Regions from separate parts of the Homo sapiens genome. Here region 2 is linked to region 1. The links are contacts of gene promoters, found by promoter capture Hi-C in blood cells and fetal thymus (Javierre and others, 2016). All regions are on one chromosome and are shown on one strand. The core of a region is centred on a gene start or on the middle of the fragment in contact, and the rest is flanking DNA. Distances in the headings are between cores, read along the strand shown.

The links. The method cuts DNA at HindIII sites, captures the fragments that hold promoters and counts their contacts. A CHiCAGO score of 5 or more calls a contact.
Region 2: a fragment that was not itself captured here is called in contact with the fragment with the promoter of LGR6 in region 1 in 3 of 17 cell types (M0 macrophages, M1 macrophages and M2 macrophages); the score reaches 7.8 in M0 macrophages.

What each region holds. Positions count from the first base shown.
Region 1 is chr1:202,191,796-202,195,362 of GRCh38, forward strand. It overlaps LGR6 (leucine rich repeat containing G protein-coupled receptor 6), which reads left to right and starts at 2,004. Exons shown (of 18, transcript NM_001017403.2): 1 at 2,004-2,406. The coding sequence starts at 2,195. RefSeq lists enhancers at 590-1,393, 1,088-1,137. The HindIII fragment of the contact is 23,199 bases long and covers 1-3,567 here.
Region 2 is chr1:202,672,527-202,675,895 of GRCh38, forward strand. The region is part of intron 1 of SYT2 (synaptotagmin 2); the gene reads right to left. Among named protein-coding and RNA genes, the nearest start is that of SYT2, 36 kb to the right of the region's middle. The HindIII fragment of the contact is 4,323 bases long and covers 1-3,369 here.

The DNA of each region.
Region 1 (3,567 bases), core at 754-3,253:
CTCACTTCTCAGACGGGGCGGCCGGGGAGAGACGCTCTTCACATCCCGGACGGGGCGACAGGGCAGAGGCGCTCCCCACATCTCAGACGATGGGCAGCCGGGCAGAGACGCTCCTCACTTCCTAGATGGGATGGCGGCCGGGAAGAGGTGCTCCTCACTTCCTAGATGGGATGGCGGCTGGGCAGAGACGCTCCTCACTTTCCAGACTGGGCAGCCAGGCAGAGGGGCTCCTCACATCCCAGACGATGGGCGGCCAGGCAGAGACGCTCCTCACTTCCCAGACGGGGTGGCGGCCGGGCAGAGGCTGCAATCTCGGCACTTTGGGAGGCCAAGGCAGGCTGCTGGGAGGTGGATGTTGTAGCGAGCCGAGATCACGCCACTGCACTCCAGCCTGGGCACCATTGAGCACTGAGTGAAGGAGACTCCGTCTGCAATCCCGGCACCTCGGGAGGCCGAGGCTGGCGGATCACTCGCAGTTAGGAGCTGGAGACCAGCCTGGCCAACACAGCGAAACCCCGTCTCCACCCAAAAAATACGAAAACCAGTCAGGCGTGGCGGCATGCGCCTGCAATTGCAGGCACTCGGCAGGCTGAGGCAGGAGAATCAGGCAGGGAGGTTGCAGTGAGCCGAGATGGCAGCAGTACAGTCCAGCTTCGGCTCGGCATCAGAGGGAGACCGTGGAAAGAGGGGAGAGGGAGAGGGAGAGCGAGAGCGGAGGCTCGTCTTCTACTTTCAGCGCCATGGCACCAACTGGAGGCCTAGGGTCAAGGTCTGCTCATTTCTTGGTCCAGCTATGCAGCCCCTCTAGCCCTGGGAGGTTATTGGGAGAGTGGAGAGGTGTTGATGAGAGGATCCTGGCATGTGGAAAGACAGGGTGGAAGAAATCCTGGATGCCTCTGAGGTCCCAGGTTTCTAGTATACCCTCTGGCTGGACCATGGGGAGATAGGGCAAAAAAAGGAAGGAGGGGGGCCCACAGCCTGCTCTAGCTCTGCGCGGGGGCTTGGCTCAGCATGGGAGAGACCAGAGAGAGCAAGAGGCTGCATGAAGGAAGCACAGCCAGCTCACTATGGTCTAAGGAGAGAACAGGGATTGACCTCAGTTTTAACCACCATGCCCTTTGCTCTCCAGGGCTCTGGGGCCGGCCCAGGTCAGCCACTTGGTGGGATTCCAGCCTCAGGGTGGCTGAGCTGCAGGTGCAGCACCCGGCCTCCAGGTGGCACCAATCCGCTTACTTTGAGGTGGGCTCTGACAACCAGCTGAGCTGCCCACAGTCCCTCAGACTCCCGAGGTCCTGGGAGCAGGGATCAAGGTGGTCCCCAGGCCGTAAACCTGACAGAGGCTGCAGGAGTGCATTTCCACCCAGGGTGCACTCAGCGGGTGTAACTCCACACCCGTTTCTTTGGAGTCAAGGCCCGGCCTCTCAGTGAGGAGACTGCTCCTGGTTGCCCACCGTCGGGTCATCCCAGCCTGCAGTGGAACCCTCCGCAGCCTGGCCTCTTCCAGGGTAGCCCCTCACTCCCCTCTCTCCTGTCCTAGCAGACAGGCCAGGGAGGGTGGACGAGTTCCAGCTCTGGGGATGTCCCATCAGCTGTGTCACCTTGAACAAATCATTTTGCCTCTTGGGTCTCAGTTTCCTGCAGTGTGAAACGTGGTGGAGGCATGAGGGGCAATGGGAGCCCCAAGGCCTCTTTCAGAGACCTCCTCTGGGTCCCATGTGACCTCGTGGCTGTCCCCAAAGGCAAGAGGGTCCCCAGCCCTGCGGCCAAGGCCCTGGGACACCCTATCCAAACAAATGCAGGTCTCTGACGGGCTGAGCTTTGCTCGCTTGGGTTTCTTTGCTTTCTTCCTTTTTTTTTTTTCTTTCCTGGATGAAATTCCTGCCAGCTCCGAAGGAAGGAGGGAAGAGGAGCGAGCCGCAGTGTAGAAAGTTTCCTTGACTCCTCCTCCGGCTGGGTCTCCCTCCCTTGCCAAGCCCAGCCTGTGAAACTGAATAACGAAGATCACTCAACAATGCCTGCCCCTCTCTGACTGCACCGTCCCGGCGCTCCCACCGCCGCCGCCGCCGCCCAATAGAGCCCCTGGGGCGGTCCCCACCGACGGTGCAGCCCGCCGGGACCGGGAGGAAGCAGCTGCGGCCATCGCGCCGTGCGTCCGCGCCCGGCCGCCAGGTGCCCCAGTAGCCCGACCGCCGAGATGCCCAGCCCGCCGGGGCTCCGGGCGCTATGGCTTTGCGCCGCGCTGTGCGCTTCCCGGAGGGCCGGCGGCGCCCCCCAGCCCGGCCCGGGGCCCACCGCCTGCCCGGCCCCCTGCCACTGCCAGGAGGACGGCATCATGCTGTCTGCCGACTGCTCTGAGCTCGGGCTGTCCGCCGTTCCGGGGGACCTGGACCCCCTGACGGCTTACCTGTGAGTACTGCCCGCCTGTCCCCGCCTGGTCCTGCGGGCTGCTGGCTAGCGCCCAGTCCCGGCCTCAGCAGGGCACCTGCTTGCTTGGTGCCCTGGGGCATGGGCATCCCGGAGAGGGTTTGCCCCCTTCCAAGTTGACCGTTGCGGGACTGGGGAGGGGAGAAGAGTCTGAGACTAAATACCAGGCGAGCAGGGAGACCGGGCTTCCCTGACTTGGCTTCCCCATTGGCCTCCGTGCTTGTGGGCTGACTATGGGAGCCCAGGCTTGGCGAGGTGGGTTCTGGACCCTGAGCGGGAGGGCGCGGGGCTGGCTGCTCCATCTCCTGTTGCTGCATTCTCTTCTAGCAGAGCAGTGCCCGGGATGGTGGCTGAGGGTAAAGCTGACAGAACTGGAGGTGGAGGTGAGGGGAGCGTGCCCCAGTAGGGTGGAAATAATGTCTGTTCTTCTGCCATGGTGAGGACAACAGGGCTGTCACACTGAGGCTGGGTGGCCTTCGTGGGGGCGGGGGGGGCGGGTTTCCTAGAAGCTGGGAGGGGGGCCTTATCCACTCTTGTCTCCTCAGAAAGGGACTCTGCCAGCACCATCTCCCTTCACTGGGGCCTCCTGGCTCCCCCAGGGGCCTCCCTAAAGTCATGTCCCAAGAGGCTGTGTTGGAGACACTAATTTGTGGGCAGGCGCCGAGGCTGAAAACCAGAGAACCATTTTTAGCGTCTGAGTTGGGGTGAGATGGCGCGTGAAGGGGACCCTACTGGGGGCAGCTGTCCTGTCTGTCTGGCTCATGGGAGCTTCCCCTCAGAGCTGGAGGGCTGGGGGCTCTGGCTGCTCACCACCTGGGCAGGAGGAGGGTGAGAGAGCACATTCCAGGCCACCCACCTGCACCCCCAGCCCCGCTCTGGGGCAAGGAAACCTCCTCCAGCCCAGCTCTGCAGGCTCTATCAACTTCCTCAGAGGAGCTGGGAGCAGGTGGGAAAGCCTGGTGGGGCCTTCTGCTGAGGGCTAGGATCCCAGAGTTCCTTCTGGCCTGAGAGAGGCTCCTTATGGCTTTGGGGTTCCAGCACATGGGAGCTTAGAGGAAGAGGAGGCTGGGTGAATCTTTATAGGGGCCTAGCAAGAATTTGTGGAACTAAAGATGCTCAGTGTTGGGAGTGTCCTGGTGGGAG
Region 2 (3,369 bases), core at 576-3,075, 480 kb after region 1:
AGACTAATATGGTAAGATTGTATGTTATTGTATTTACATACAATAACTGAAAATACAAGTTCAATGAACAGATATAATCTCAAGTTTAACACAGCTGAAGAAGACATTAATGAACTGGAAAGCAGATCAGAAGAAATAATCCAGAACACAGTGGTTAAAACTTGGCAGAAGCAGAATAAAGGGTAAAAGAGGATGAGAAGAAAACAGACATTTCATTGGAATTACAGGTGGGAAATGAGAGAGGGAGGGAGGGAGAGAGAGAGAGAGGCTAAGGCAACACTTGAGGAGAGAAAGGCAGAAGATACCCAGACCTGATAAAATATATCAATCCACAGATTCAAGAAACCCAACAAATCCCAAGCAGCAAAAAATAAAAAGAAAGTCATGTCTAGACATATCACAGGAAAACTGCAGAAAACTAAAGAAAAAGTCTTAAAAATGTAGAGCCGAAATAACCAAACTAGCAGCTGGGAGGGCAGTACAGGCTCCAGCTGTCTCACAATATCCAAACGTTTGCTAGTGTGTAAACTAAATGAAAATATTTTTCATTTCTTGCCCAGAAATCTGGGCTTATGGATGGTGTTATAAGAAAATCTTGGAGATGGGAAACAAAAGAAAATAACATATTAGCCATCCTCCAAGTGTAGATGGTGGGCTTGGGTTTACTGAACATTTTAATAAATCATCTGAAAAGGGGAAAATGTCTGAACTATAAGTACTATTAAGTCTTCTAGAATAAACAGCAAGACCCTGTGTGGCAGGTCAGCTTCAGCGTTGGAACATGTAAGTTAAAAGGTACGTGAAAATGGACCCAACGATATAATAAAATCATGGGCCTGGACCCTCAGTTACATTGCAGGAAAGAATCAGTAATTCACATCTAAATCAGGCCCAAACAAACCAAAAATGTATCAATGTTCTGTGTCCATACTCTGAAAAGTTTGGAGTGAGTTTTGACTCAACAAGTACTTTTCCTCCCTGAATGGATCCAATGAGATGGATGTTTCTGTGTCACGAAGATCGATGCTCACCCACATCCTTAGGTCCCAACAGCTCCAGTTGAAGGGACACATTACCCAGGGAATGAGGCCATAGTTACCTTGGGGTGACCTCCAGGAAGACTTGCCCGCACACCCAGCTCCTTTCCTTGCCCTGGACAGCCCCAGCTGCCGGCACACCCCTTGCAGATTTACTACTCTGTTCCCATGGCTGTCTCCAGCCACCTCTAGTTTCTCAGCCTTTAATGCATTTTCTACATCTGTACAAGATTTATTCGAGGCAGGGAGATTTATTTAGCACATTTATGCTCAACAGAGAAGACAATTCCTCACAGAGTTCTGATCTCATTTGCCATTAGAAGCCTGAATGAGATTGCCTGGCTGATGGGCAGTGACAGTTGGCTGGTTCTGGGTAGGAGTGGATATGGGAACCTGCCGTTACATACATGTGATATTTGTGTGTAATACATGAAGGTCTATGTGGCAGGTTAATGTGTATTTTTTTTAATGTGTGAGTATTCTTGTGTGGGTATGTGTGTGAATTTCTGAACAATGGGAGAGCACAGGTATATTTATTTGTTTTATTTTATTTTTTGAGACAGAGTCTCACTCTGTCACCTGGGCTGGAGTGCGGTGGTGTGATCTTGTGTCGCTGCAACCTCCGCCTCCTGGGTTCAAGCAATTCTCGTGCCTCAGCCTCCTGAGTAGCTGGGATTACAGGCGTGTACCACCACGTGCAGCTAATTTTTGTATTTTTAGCAGAGGCAGGGTTTTGCCATATTGGCCAGGCTGGTCTCGAACTCCTGACCTCAGTTAATCCGCCCACCTCAGCTTCCCAAAGTGCTGGGATTACAGGCATGAGCCACCGCGCCTGGCCTAGGTGTTTTTAATTATGCATATACCCCAGTGTTAGCATGGTCCATCTGAGCATATGAACATCTGTGTGGAAGGATGTGAAAGTCTGTGTAATATGATGTGATATGTACACATGTGTGAATATAGAAATATGAGCTTTGATAAATGGCTGCAAGTACTTAGTGAGATTATGTGTGTTCAATCACTCATCCATATCTGTATAACTGATGGGAGTATGATCTGTTACCAGCCTAAGGATTCTTTTCAAATGGTAAACCAAATCATCTCTCCTCAGCTTAAAATTTTCCAAGGACTCCCATTGCACTTGGTATGAAACCCCTACTGTTTAATCTGACCTCAGCAGTCCAGGCCTCCCACTTCACTGGCCGCAGCTCTGCTCTCTCACCTTCACACACTGCTCTGGTCACACTGGCCTCCCACATGTCCCCTCCAGACACCCTCAGACTGGCCGGCCCCCTCCCCCACTGCCCAGCATGCTCTGCCCTGAGCACCACCCCAATAATCTCAATGTCATGATCTCAGCCTGCTTCGCCTCCTTCAGAGCACTTACTACCATCTGAAGTTATCTTGTTCAGAACTCACCTTGTTTATTGTCTGTCCATGCCTCCCAAGAAAATGCCAGGTGCTCAGAGAGGGCCATGGCTTTCTTGTTTATTACAGCATCCCCTGAACAGTGCTGGGTGCACAGGAGGGCCCAGTAGTTAACTGTTGAATGAGGACTGTGTATGTGTGACCATATGATGTCTGCATATGTGCACTAGGATGTCTACTAAGGAAAAATAAGATGTGGTGAATACTGAGCACGTTGGGCACATGAATGAGTCTGTATGACCATATATTTAACGTGCAGTCATTCATTTAACAAATTACTTTCAAGTAAGTGTGTGCCAAACACACTAATAGGCCCTGCTCTCATTGAGCTTACAGTCTTGTGGGAGAGACACACACTAAATAATTATATATATAATTAATATATATTATAATAATTATATAATATATATACACAATTGAAAATTATGTGAAGACTATTAATGCAAAGCATAGACAGCCATGAAAGTATTTGACCAGGGACCACAGTTGAGTTGGGAGCTCAGCAAAGTCTTTCCCAAGGGGCTGGAGTCACTCTGAGATCTTCAGGGACTCAGGGAAAGGCTGGGCTTTTCTGTTTCTAACCCACATGTGGATATGTGCACTTGCAAATGTTATCACTAGAGGTCCTGGACACCGAGCAGGAAGAATCCCAGTCCTCAAGAATGGGACATACTCATTCACTGATACCCAAATGGATTTCTCACATGATCTGCTGGCTGGTTCCCTTCCACCTTACCCCATTTCCTCTAACCGGTCCAAGCAGCCAGGCTAATAATCCTGAAACAACACCTAGAGGACCAAATTAAAGCTCTCCAGCTTAGGGTCAAGCCACCTGTCATCTGACCCTAGCTTGAATAGTAATCATTCCTAACCTCTTTTGAGCATTTACCATGTGTTAGGTGCA